Regions from separate parts of the Homo sapiens genome. Here region 1 is linked to region 2. Evidence: promoter capture Hi-C in 16 types of primary human blood cells and fetal thymus (Javierre and others, 2016). All regions are on one chromosome and are shown on one strand. Each heading gives the region's core, a stretch centred on a gene start or on the middle of the fragment in contact. The rest is flanking DNA. Distances are from core to core; before and after follow the strand shown.

Region 1 (6,464 bases), core at 1,108-3,607, 64 kb after region 2:
TTTGCTATAATCATTATTAGTTTCAGAAATTTTTTGTTAATTCTTTTGGAATTTCTACATAGACAATCATGTCATCTGTGAACAAAGACAGTTTTATTCACATTTCTTTCCTGTCAACTGGCTCCCTCTTAGTTTCTATCAATAGGAGTGTTAAGGGAGACTGGAAAACTGAAAGAAAAGTGACTTTCATTTTCCTCTTTGCTTGCTATGCCTGTCAGTGTTGGCCTAGCATCAGAAGTTAGTTCAGCCTCAAGCTTCTCTCAGCTCTCCCAGAACCAGACTCATTGTGCCCTCTTAGACATCCAGCACCAATCAGGAAACATCCCCATCCTCAGAGGCCTAAGCCTCAGCTCTGTTAGGTCCTTTATCTGAACTTTTGGTTTAGATAACCCCAGCCTCTTCCCTTTGTTTCCCCAGCTCCAAAGGTGGTAGCTGCTCCTTGCAGATTTTATCTCTATGTTACCTCAATGTTTCCCTTTGCTTTTTCATTCCTCCAACGCTTATTTAATCAACTCCCTGCACTGCATTTTGTATTGAAGCATCTAGTGTTACTTTTGTTTTCCTGAATGAACTCTTATTGATACAAATAATATTGATTAACTTCATATTTTGATAAATGAAAGGTTTGTGTTGTAGGTAACCAGTAAAAGTCTGGACATAGAATTATATAACTTCAAATTGATCAAGGGAAAAATGAAATGAGAAATAAATACCAGTTATGAGGCCACTGATTTCAGGAAATACTTGTATCTATCATCAAAAAGAATATCGGCGGGGCTTCGTGGCTCATGCCTGTAATCCCAGCACTTTGGGAGGCCGAGGTGGGCAGATCACGAGGTCAGGAGATCGAGACCTTCCTGGCTAACACGGTGAAATCCCCGTCTCTACTGAAAATACAAAAAATCAGCTGGGCATGGTGGCGGGTGCCTGCAGTCCCAGCTACTCCGGAGGCTGAGACGGGAGAATGGTGTGAATCCAGGAGGCGGAGCTTGCAGTAAGCCGAGATCGCGCCACTGCACTCCAGCCTGGGCGACAGAGCGAGACTCCGTCTCAAAAAAAAAAAAAAAAAGGAATAAAAGTAATTTATTTGATTCCGATCACAAAATACAGGCAAGAAGCACGGGCAATGCCTGTAACTCCTTGATCACACATCTTCCCAGTCTGTGCTTTTATAAATACCCTTCGTACAACAGCAAGCTAATGCTGTCCCCCAAGCGCTTGTTCACATTCTAACAGCTGCAAAGTATAGTGTATGACTAGTTGGGAAGTTAAACAGATGCCCTGCTCACAAGGTAGGGCCCCTCCAATTAGTGTTCCAGCTCCCTTTCGCTGATATTGAAACTGAAGTAATTTGTTGCTCTATTGGTCACAGATGAATTATGCCTGCACAATTCTTCGAGGGCTTTAAGTAACCTTATTGAAAGGCAGTGACTAAGACCCTTTCCTTGCTCCCAAGCTTCCTAAGTCCCAGGCTGCCTGTGGCACCTGGACTGCTGCCCCTGGGTCTCCCACATTCCAGGGCCACGATGGAGGAAGGGCAGGCCAGGCCAAGCATAAGTAATAAACAGTCTTTACCGGGCTCAGGCCAGGAGTCCGTGGGCCTTGAGGACCTCCCTGTATTTGTCAATTTTCTTCTCCACATTCTTTTCGGCCTGTCTCCATAGCCTCAGGAGTTGTTTCTTCTGGTCCTGGATCTTGGCTTTCTCCTTCCCCTTCTCCTCCAGGGTGGCTGTCACGGTCTGGTACTTTCAGCCAATCTCGTGAGCCAGGTACCCCAGGTAGGCGAACTTTCTCGTAGGCTTCAGACGCACAACCTTGGGGGCAACAGGAAGCACCATCCGCTTTTTCCTCTCACGGGGCGGTGGGACGCCACCGAACACCTGGCGGCAGGTCCTAGGCGGCCTGGCTGGCTGCTGTCGTGGGGCGGCCCGGCTCGCAAGCTCTGCCAGAAGACGTGGGGCCTCGGGAAGGGCTGGTGTTCATCCGCTTGCGGAGGAAAGCCAGGTACTTCAACTTGTTTCCGTAGAAATTGCCAGAAATGTCGATGCCCTCGCAGCGCACGATCACCACCTTCCGGCCCAGCAGCACCTGCTTAGCCACGATGGCCGCCAGGCAGCCCAGGAGGTGACCTCGGCCATCGAGCACTAGGACCTGCCCCTCCGCCATCTTCAGCAGCCTCCTAGAAAAGATTGAATTATAAATCAGAAACTTCCCATGAAGAAAATGTCAATACTATTTCTTCACAAGCTTTTCCAAAAATAGAAGAAAATGAAGCTCTTCCAAGCCCATTCAATGAGGTAATACTACTCAGATACCAAAATCAGACAAACACAATACAAGAAAACTGTAGACTATTTCTTATGAATATAGACCCAGAAATTCTCCACAAATTACCATGAATTCAACAACAAATAAAAAGGATTATATACCACGACCAAGTGGGATTTATCCCAGGAATGAAAGCTTGAGTTAACATAAGAAATAAAATTAATGTTGTACATCCTATCCATAGACTAAAGGACAAAAACCACATGGTCATCTTAGTAGACACAGAAAAGACATTTGACAAAATTCAACATCTCTTCATGATAAAAACATTTAATAAACCAGGAAGATAAAGGGACTTAATCAACCTGATAAAAGTCATCAAGCATCTACAAAAAACCCACAACTAATATCATACTTTTTGGTAAAAAATGAATGATTACTCTCTCTAATATTAGGAATAAGACAAGAATACCTACTCTTACCATTTCTATTTGACATTGTACCGGACATTCTAGCCAGTGTAATTAGGCAAGAAGATGAATGTTGTATGTAGATGAATGAATGAATGTAAAAGGCATACAGATTGGAGAGAAAAACAAAACCATCTCTATTTGCAGATGACCTTATATCTAAAATATCCTAAGGAATTCACTAAAAAATCTATTAGAACTAATAGAAGAATTCAACAAGGTTGCAGAATACAAGAATCAATTGTATTTCTATACACTTGCAATGAACAATCTAAGAACAAAAGAACATAATTTCATTTGCAATACCGTCAAAAAGAATAAAATAATTAGAAACACACGTAGCAAAGAAGTACAAAACATATACTCTAGGCCAGGTGCGGTGGCTCATGCGTGTAATCCCAGCACCTTGGGAGGCCAAGGCGGGCGGATCACCTGAGGCCAGGAGTTCGAGACCAGCCTGGCCAACATGGTGAAACCACATTCTACTAAAAATACAAAAAAAAATTAGTCGAGCATGGTGGCGGGTGCCTATAATCTCAGCTACTTGGGAGGCTGAGGCAGGAGAATTGCTTGAACCCGGGAGGCCAGCCAAGGTTGCGGTGAGCTGAAATTGCGCCACTGCACTCCAGCCTGGGTGACAGAGCAGGACTCCATCTCAAAAAAAAAGAGAAAAGAGGATAAAAGAGGCTAAGTGAACAAAGCTAGTCTTCAAAACCACATATTGTGTGATTACATTTATATGAAATGCCCAGAATAGGTAATTCAATGGACAGAAAGTAGATAAGAGGTTACGTTGGGCTGGGGAGCTCACTGAAAGTTGGGAAATGGGTAGTGACTGCTAACGGGTGCAGAGTTTTTTTGGGGGTGATAAAAATGTTCTAGAACTGATTGTAGTGCACAACTCTGTGAATATACTAAAAACCATTGAATCTACACTTTAAATTGGTGTGTTAATACTGAGTATCAACTTGATTGAAGGATGCGAAGTATTGTTCCTGGGTGTGTCTGTGAGGGTCTTACCAAAGGAGATTAACATTTGAGTCCGTGAACCAGCAGAGGCAGACCCAACCTCTATCTGGATGGGCATCATTTAATCAGCTGCCAGCGTGGCTGGGATAAAAGGAGAGGAACGTGGAAGGGCTAGACTGACCAAGTCTTCTGGCCTCCATCTTTCTCCCATGCTTGATGCTTCCTGCCCTTGAACGTTGGACTCCAGGTTCTTCAGCTTTTGGACTCTTGGACCTACGCCAGTGGTTTGCCAGGGGCTCTTGGGCCTTTGGCCACAGACTGAAGGCTGCACAGTTCACTTCCCGACTTTTTTTTTTTTTTTTTTTTTTGAGACGGAGTCTCGCTCTATTGCCCAGGCTGGAGTGTGCAGTGGCGCGATCTCGGCTCACTGCAAGCTCTGCCTCCCGGGTTCACGCCATTCTCCTGCCTCAGCCTCCCAAGTAGCTGGGACTATAGGCACCCGCCTCCACGCCCGGCTAATTTTTTGTATTTTTTAGTAGAGATGGGGTTTCACCCTGTTAGCCAGGATGGTCTTGATCTCCTAAGCTTGTGATCCGTCCGCCTCGGCCTCCCAAAGTGCTGGGATTACAGGCATGAGCCACCGCGCCCGGCCCTTTTTTTTTTTTTTTTTTTTTTGAGATGGAGTCTCACTCTGTCGCCAGGCTGGAGTGCAGTGGCATGGTCTCGGCTCACTGCAACCTCCACCTCCCGGTTTCAAGCAATTCTCCTGCCTCAGCCTCCCAAGTAGCTGGGACTACAGGTGTCCGCCACTACACCCAGCTAATTTTTGTATTTTTAGTAGAGACGGGGTTTCACCGTGTTGGTCAGGATGGTCTCGCTATCTTGACTTCATGATCCACCTGCCTCGGCCTCCCAAAGTGCTGGGATTACAGGCATGGGCCACCGTGTCCGGACTGTTTATTTTTGAGATGGAGTCTCACTCTGTTGCCTAGGCTGGAGTGCAGTAGTGCCATTATGGCTCACTGCAGCCTCAGCCTCCCAGGTTCAAGTTATCCTCCCACCTCAGCCCCCTGAGTAGCTAGGACTACAGGCGTGCACCACCATACCTGGCTAATTTTTTTGTATTTTTTGTAGAGATGGGGTTTTACCATGTTGCTCAGCTAGTCTTGAACTCCTGGGCTCAAGTGATCCACTCACCTCAGCCTCCCAAAGCACTGGGATTATAGGCATGAGCCACCACCCCCAGCCTCCATTCAATATATTTGTGATAAGTTATTTTGGCTAAACTATATGAAGAATTCTGAGCCACTGTACCTGTAGTCCAAGCTACTCAAGAGGCCGAAGCAGTAGGATCACTTGAGCCCGGGAGTTTGAGGCCAGCCTAGGCAACATAGTGAGACTCCATGTCTAAAAAAACAAAAAACAAGAACTGTATGATGCAGGATTTAGTTGCCTTTTGTTTATTACACCACACTCAACAAATAGTTCTTTCTTTCTCTCTCTCTCCCTTTCTTCCTTCCTTCCTTTCTTTCTTTCTTTCTCTTTCTTTTCTCTTGAGACAGGGTCTTGCTCTGACACCCAGGCTGGAGTGCGTAGGGCAGTGGTACAATCATAGCTCACTGCAGCCTTGACCTCCTGAGCTCAAGCGATCCTTCCACCTCAGCCTCCTGAGTACTTGAGACTACAAGGAGGTGCCATCACACCTGGCTAAATTGAAAAAAAAAAAAAAAAATTGTAGAGACAGCATCTCCCAATGTTGCCCAGGCTGAAATATTTGTTTCTTAAACATTAGCTGCAATGTAAAATCTGAAACTATATCAATAAGCCTTTTCCACTCTGGGTTATATGAAAATCTATCTTGCACTTTGATTGGATTTTTTTACCCATGCATGATTTTGTATCCATAATGAATTGGTCATTTGGAAAACATTGGATCACTGAGCTATGCAGAGCTTGCAAATGTTGCCACATTTCACTGTACAACGTTTTTAAAATAACATTCTTTAATATCACCACCAGTCTCATCAGAAAAGTCTTTAAGTATTGGGAAACGGTCAAGCTTGGGTGGCAGGTACAAAATTCTATTTTGCTTGAAAGTTCTAACTTTATCATTGCCAACAAATAATGTTAAGTTGCTTTCCTTGAAGCGACAGGCTTACTTTGTTTATTTTTGTAAAACTGTCTGCCTAATACTCAAGACTCAATAAACATAGTTCATTATACTTTCAAGTAAAAAATGCGTTCACTGGAAAAAAATTGGCTAGTTCCGTTTGTGTCTAAATAACACAAGTGCTTTTCTTCCAAACAACCAGACTTTGGTAGGGAGCAAAAGCACTTTGCCCATACTTCCCATTTTGTTAGACAGAATTTTCAAAAGATGTTCACTCAAGGGTTGAGATTTAACAAAATTAATACTTTTCACAGCTTCACAAAGGACACTCTTTGTTTTTGTTTTTATTTTTTTGTCGTTGTTGTTGTTGTTGTTTTGAAATGGAGTCTCACTCTGTCACCCAGGCTGGAGTGCAGTGGTGCGATCTAGGCTTACTGCAACCTCCACCTCCCGGGTTCAACTGATTCTCGTGCCTCAGCCTCCTGAGCAACTGGGACTCCGTCTCACAAAACAAACAAACAAAAACAGGCAAGTAGTGTTTTATTTGTTTCTTTGTTTGTTTTCTAATAGAGAAAGGATTTTCCTATCTTGCCTAGGCCGATATCAAACTTCTGGGCTCAAGGTGTCCTCCTGCCTCTACTTCCCCA
Region 2 (6,268 bases), core at 139-2,638:
AGGAGGGTGGGACGCCAAATCAGGGGACTGCTGTGACTCCCCAAGTCCCGGGAAGGGGTCTCCAAGGCTGCAGAGAGACCTTCCTTCGCCCATCTTACCCCACCCCCAAGGGGTCTCAACCTCTTTTCCACTTTGGCCTAACCACTTCAGGATTCTCACCTGGCTGGAGGATAGAGAGCCTTGAACTCCAAGACCCCTAGAGGGGTGGGGGACACGGAGCAGACGGTTTCCATTCACTCTGCCTGCCTCCTCTTTAATCTTCTGAAAGAATCCCACTCAGCAAACCTCAGGAGACTGAAAGGGAACCCTGAAGAGGCCGGCTCTCACTGCCTCAACTGAAGGGTCCTTATACTTGGGGAGTGAAATCCTCCACCTGTGGGTAGCCAGGTGTCAGGGCAGTGCCTCCACTAATTCAGCATCCCGCGGTTGGTCCCCTACCCACCATACACACGGATTCCTCTCTGCTTCTGCCCGCTGTTTCTGAGGCACTCTTGGAGCTACGGTTGCTATGGAGACTGGATGCATTTTGGCATGGGGGGGTATCAGTCTAAGACACATCCTTCTCCCTCCTCCTAGAGCTGGAGCCTTTGACTTACCCTGTGGCCTGGGCTCCTCCAGCACTCAGATCTCTCCCTTCTCTCCTACCCTGCTAAGTTCCATGTTTGTCCCCATCCCTGGGGAACATTTTCCAAGTTCACTTTGGGACAGTCGAGCTCAAGTCTTGGCCCCGTCAAAGTATTAAATGTGGTGGTGTGAGTGGGAAAGGGAGCTGGGTCATGAGAACGGGAACCGTCCAGGTACCTGGGGGAGACAAGAGATCCTGGGGGAAGGGATTTCAGGGCCCCCACTTTCCCACTTCATCTTCCCCAGAATTGGCAGTGACCCTGGGTTTGCTCTGTTTACCGCGGCCCCTGTCCACCCAATAGATCGATTTTCACCCTTATCCCTAAATGCCATACCTCACAATCGCGCTTCCTAACCTTGGTGCGCGAGAGGAGGGGGCTAGGTTGTTGGAGGAGGTGAGTCCAAGTCCCAGGAAATCCAGCCCAGGATTTGGGAGAGAAATCCAGCCCTGGATTTTGCACCGCCCTCGCAGACATCGGTGCTGGTGGAGAAAAGGTGGGGGGGAGATAGGGTGGGGGGGCCTGGGGGCCGCCTCCTCCTCAATGTGAGGGGAGCGCCCGGACACAGCGCGCATCCGGACCAAGCCGAGCCCAGGCGAGGCCCCCGGACTCTTCGCCCGGATCTCACGCCCCTCCCCTCCCAGACCCCAGACCCGTGGGTTCCCACCCACCTCCCGTTCCCTCTTTCCTCCCCCGCCGCCTCCTGTATCTCCATCCCCAGCATCCTCCCCGCGCCCCTGCGAATCCCCCGCACGGCCAGCCCCACTAGCTTCCCACCCTCCTCTAGACCCTCTTTCCGACCGCATCCGCGGCCCCTGTCCCTTGAGTCCCAATTCCCCGCCCCTGCCTCCCCCGCACAGGTTCGTTTCCCCTAGCCTCCGGTCCCCTTTTCTGCTCCCTTTTCCTCTCTCTCCCCCATTTGCCCCCACTACTGTCCTCCCCGCCCTCCCCCACCCATCTCAGCGCCCCCACCCAGGCCGGGGTGGACGGTCCGGCGCGCCTCCCTGGAGCAGCACCAAGGTCCCGGGGCTCCAAGAGGGTGGGGGCGCAGGGCGGGGAGCATGGGGAGGGGGCGCCCCATGTGATGGGAGGGGGGCGCAAGCGGAGGCGGCGGAGGCGGCGGCGACAGCGGAGCCGGGCCGGGGGCTCAGCGGGGTCCGGGGGCTGGGGGCAGCGAGCAGGGCGGCCCCATGGCCGGGCCCCCCTGAGGCAGTCCGGGGGAGTCCCCTCCCCTCCCCAGCTCGGGGGTCTCCGGGCCCCATGAGCCGGGGCGCGGGCGCGCTTCAGCGCCGGACAACGACCTACCTCATCTCGCTGACCCTGGTTAAGCTCGAGTCGGTGCCTCCGCCGCCGCCTTCTCCGTCTGCGGCCGCGGCCGGCGCCGCCGGTGCCAGAGGCTCCGAGACTGGGGATCCTGGCAGCCCCCGAGGCGCGGAGGAGCCGGGCAAGAAGCGGCACGAACGTCTCTTCCACCGGCAGGATGCGCTGTGGATCAGCACGAGCAGCGCGGGCACCGGGGGCGCGGAGCCCCCAGCCCTGTCCCCGGCTCCGGCCAGTCCGGCCCGCCCAGTCTCCCCCGCTCCCGGCCGCCGCCTCTCCCTCTGGGCCGTCCCTCCGGGACCCCCGCTCTCCGGGGGACTGAGCCCCGACCCCAAGCCTGGGGGCGCCCCCACCTCCTCCCGGCGCCCCCTGCTCAGCAGCCCGAGCTGGGGCGGCCCGGAGCCCGAAGGCCGGGCGGGCGGCGGCATCCCTGGCTCATCCTCTCCGCACCCTGGCACCGGCAGCCGGAGGCTCAAGGTGGCGCCTCCTCCGCCGGCTCCCAAGCCTTGCAAGACCGTGACCACGAGTGGAGCCAAAGCCGGCGGGGGCAAGGGCGCGGGTAGCCGCCTGTCATGGCCCGAAAGCGAGGGCAAGCCCAGGGTCAAGGGGTCAAAGAGCAGCGCCGGGACTGGAGCTTCGGTCTCTGCCGCCGCCACCGCCGCCGCCGCCGGGGGAGGGGGCTCTACAGCTTCGACCTCTGGTGGGGTCGGGGCTGGGGCTGGAGCCCGAGGGAAGTTGTCCCCTCGGAAAGGCAAGAGTAAGACCTTGGACAACAGTGACTTGCATCCGGGACCGCCTGCCGGCTCTCCTCCTCCGCTAACCCTCCCACCAACTCCGAGTCCAGCCACTGCTGTCACCGCTGCTTCCGCGCAGCCCCCCGGGCCTGCACCTCCAATCACTCTGGAGCCTCCAGCTCCGGGGCTGAAACGGGGCCGGGAGGGGGGCCGAGCATCCACTCGTGACCGCAAGATGCTCAAGTTTATCAGCGGCATCTTCACCAAGAGCACAGGAGGGCCTCCTGGCTCCGGGCCCCTTCCCGGACCCCCCAGCCTGTCTTCTGGCAGCGGGTCCAGGGAGCTGCTGGGCGCCGAGCTCCGCGCTTCCCCTAGTGAGTTGAGTCAGGGCTTGAGAACAGGGAGGGAAGGGTACCTGGAATGCTCAGCTTGGGGTGGAGGAGCGAGGTCCAGGAAACTAGGGAAGCTTTTCTCTGGGGTGGGCGGATGAACCAAGCTCACCCCTCTGTCAAGGATTGGGGCAAAGAATAGGAGTCCTGAAGCGGGGCGAGTAGCTACATTGTGCGACAGGAGAAAGGACTTGATTTCAGAGGGACTCAGCCTCAGAGCTTTCTGGGAAAGTAACGTCCTTGATCAGAGTGACTAGAAAATTGCTCCCAGAGAAGCCCAGGACCCCACTTCCAGCCTCAGCTGAACTCTGGGAGCATGGAAACGGGGCTTTGCCGTGTTTAGAGCGACGTTGAAGGTGAAGGGGATGAGGAAGCCTCAGTTTCCCCTGAGCACTTGGGGCAGGTGGCATGACAGTGACCTTGCAGGCAGCTTCTCGCCAGGGACTAGTCGTCCCCTGGGCTGAGAGCAGGCTAGTGATGTTTTTCGTGCGGTGAAGGCGGATTGGGCGGTACGCGAGTCCGCGGGGGCTGGAACGTGCAGAATATTTAAATGTGAAGTGAGAGGGGGCGGATAGGAAGCCTCACTTCCCCCACTGCCCACCCCCTCCCCAGAGCCGCATTGAAACCCACCCGGGGCTGACCCTGGAGTGAGTCAGGTGGGGCGGAACTGCTGCAAAGGCAATCCGTACCCCGGGAGACTTGGGAGGCGGTACGGGGAAGGTAGTGTTTTTTACGGGGGCAGGGTGTCTATTATTATTACTATTTTCCTACTGGAGGAGATAGGCAGGAGACTCTTGGTTCGGCTCACACTCCCGGGAGAGGAGGCGGGTCCGGGAGCGGAGGCGGCCCCCGGGGTTTGGCTCCGGAGCGGGTGGGAGCAGATGGCTCCGGATCCCAGAGTTCCCGCCGCAGCTGCGGCGCCCCGGGAACGTCCGGCCGGTGTCAGGCGCGGGGGCTGGACCTGGCTGGCGGAAGGAGCATCCTTTCCCCCGGGCCTGTGGCTTCTCTCGGCCAGGCGATGGAGCCCTTCCCCACAGTTCTTTTGGAGGGCGTTTGTGGGGAGGGTGTGGGAGATGGAGGCATAGGAAAATCCTAGCTCTTTCCCTTGGGCTGTGGGGAGGGGTCCAGGGCTACAGTGCCGTTGACCTTGAAGAAGGGGAGGGAAACCCCTCACCTCAGTTTCTCTCCTGTGGAATGGAGGTTGGGGAAGACACACTCTCTTCTGTGTTTCAGCACCTCCTCCCAGGGTCTGCCCTGGGAACCAGTGGGTTAGGGAGGAGCTCCTCTTCTATTCTTTTTCCAGAGGGAAGAACCTGCCACTGTCAGAGCCCTGGTCTCCCTGTCTGGGGCCAGGACCCGCGTTTGGGGATGTGCTTTAAGGGAGATGCCAACTGAAGTATTTTTGTCTTGCTAGCTCCGTTGCTAAGCAACCACTGAGCGGCAGCAACAGCTGGGGGAGAGTGGCTGGGATGGGAGGCCTGGGGACCACCCTCAAACCTGTCTGTTGCACACACCTCTCCAGTGCAGGCAGGGTTGGGGGGGGGTTGGAAAGCTGCAGAGGGAGGAGGGGTGGCTCAGTGTTGGGGGTCCTTCTGAGCCAGGAGCCTCCCCTCTTACTGCCCTTCTCCCGTTACAGAGGCTGTGATCAATAGCCAGGAATGGACTTTGAGCCGCTCCATTCCTGAACTGCGCCTGGTAGGTAACCCAGTCCCCTTGCCTATAGGGAAGGCTGACCTCCCACCCACTGCACTCTCAGCTCTCTCCCTTCACCTCTCCTTCTCTCTCTCTCTCTCTTTGGGAATAGGGAATCGTTTTCCAGTTCTCCTGAGAGTCTGCCTTCATAGCACCAACATGGGGTTTGCTACAGCCTCCTCACAAGTTTTTCCTATCTAGTCTTTATGCAGCCATCCCCTTTTTCCTGTTTGTTCATGGTCCTCCTCCAGGCTTCTCATTTCTGGTATCTGCCCTTTGGCCTTCATGTTGTACTGCCTAGAATTGGGTAAAGTTTTCCAACTAGTGCCTAGAGCTGTGACATGCTACAAACACACACACACAGAGACACACACACACAACATATCTAGTATGTTTTCTAAACAACCCAACACACAAAAAAGCTGGTACTGAATTGCTGACATTCTTCAGCTCGTGCTCCACTTTGAGCTTGGGATCATTTCTTACCACACTCATGCCCTGATCCTCCCAACTGCTCTGATCCCCCCAGCTGCTCTGATCCTCCCAACTGCTCTCTCTGGAATGACTGTCATCCAGGCCCTGTAGGGTCCTGCTTGGATGACTTATCTCTCTGGGTTTTCTGGAGTGTCCAGACCCATGCATCCTGCCTTCTCTTATATCCCACAATTTCTGCTCCACAACCTTGCCCTCAGGGTGTGCTGGGCGATGCCAGGAGTGGGAAGTCATCGCTCATCCACCGATTCCTGACTGGCTCATACCAGGTGCTGGAGAAGACAGAGAGTGAGTTCTGAAGAGCCATAGTAAGCTAACCATTGGGGTCAGGGATCCAGGAGTGAGATCAATGATTAGGCAGGTGTGGAGACCAGGGGGGAAGGATGAGGCCATAATAGCAAAAGCACTGGGAGCATGGGGAGGTTTGGTGACCTGTCACCTCTGACCTGTTACCCCTTCCAACTCTTCTGGACAGGTGAGCAGTACAAGAAAGAAATGTTGGTGGATGGACAGACACATCTGGTGCTAATCCGAGAGGAAGCTGGGGCACCTGATGCCAAGGTGAGGGTGGAGGTGGTGGGGGACAGGCTGGCTGGGGTCAGCACTGGCCAAAGGAGAGGGCTCTGGTTTCCCAGGTCTTCATCTGGATTGGGTCCAGAGGAGTAGACCTGTCTGACTTTCCATTTGCTCCCTCACTCCCCGCAAGTTCTCAGGCTGGGCAGATGCTGTGATCTTCGTCTTCAGCCTGGAGGATGAGAACAGTTTCCAGGCTGTGAGCCGTCTCCATGGGCAGCTGAGTTCCCTTCGCGGGGAGGGACGAGGAGGCCTGGCCTTGGCACTGGTGGGGACACAAGGTAAGGAGGGGTTAGGAAAGCACTGCTTTCAAGGGAGGCCCTAAGGAGGCTACTGGGATATTGCCCAACATGGGTGAGAACTTGGTAAGGTGTGGAAATGGCCACTTGGATTATAGTACCCTTCTGGAGGGAGCCTGGTCTCCAAATAAGGGAGTCATGAAACC

The links. Contacts are between HindIII fragments. The CHiCAGO score rates a contact against its expected background, and 5 or more counts as called.
Region 1: a contact is called between a fragment that was not itself captured here and the fragment with the promoter of AGAP2 in region 2, in 2 of 17 cell types (M1 macrophages and erythroblasts). The highest score is 7.6, in M1 macrophages.

What each region holds. Positions count from the first base shown.
Region 1 is chr12:57,670,367-57,676,830 of GRCh38, reverse strand. It overlaps the pseudogene RPL13AP23. Among named protein-coding and RNA genes, the nearest start is that of OS9, 21 kb to the left of the region's middle. The HindIII fragment of the contact is 216 bases long and covers 2,250-2,465 here.
Region 2 is chr12:57,733,862-57,740,129 of GRCh38, reverse strand. It overlaps AGAP2 (ArfGAP with GTPase domain, ankyrin repeat and PH domain 2), which reads left to right and starts at 1,388. Exons shown (of 19, transcript NM_001122772.3): 1 at 1,388-3,051; 2 at 4,703-4,761; 3 at 5,451-5,538; 4 at 5,726-5,811; 5 at 5,957-6,104. The coding sequence starts at 1,884. RefSeq lists a silencer at 2,016-2,235 and an enhancer at 5,301-6,268. The HindIII fragment of the contact is 3,748 bases long and covers 1-3,145 here.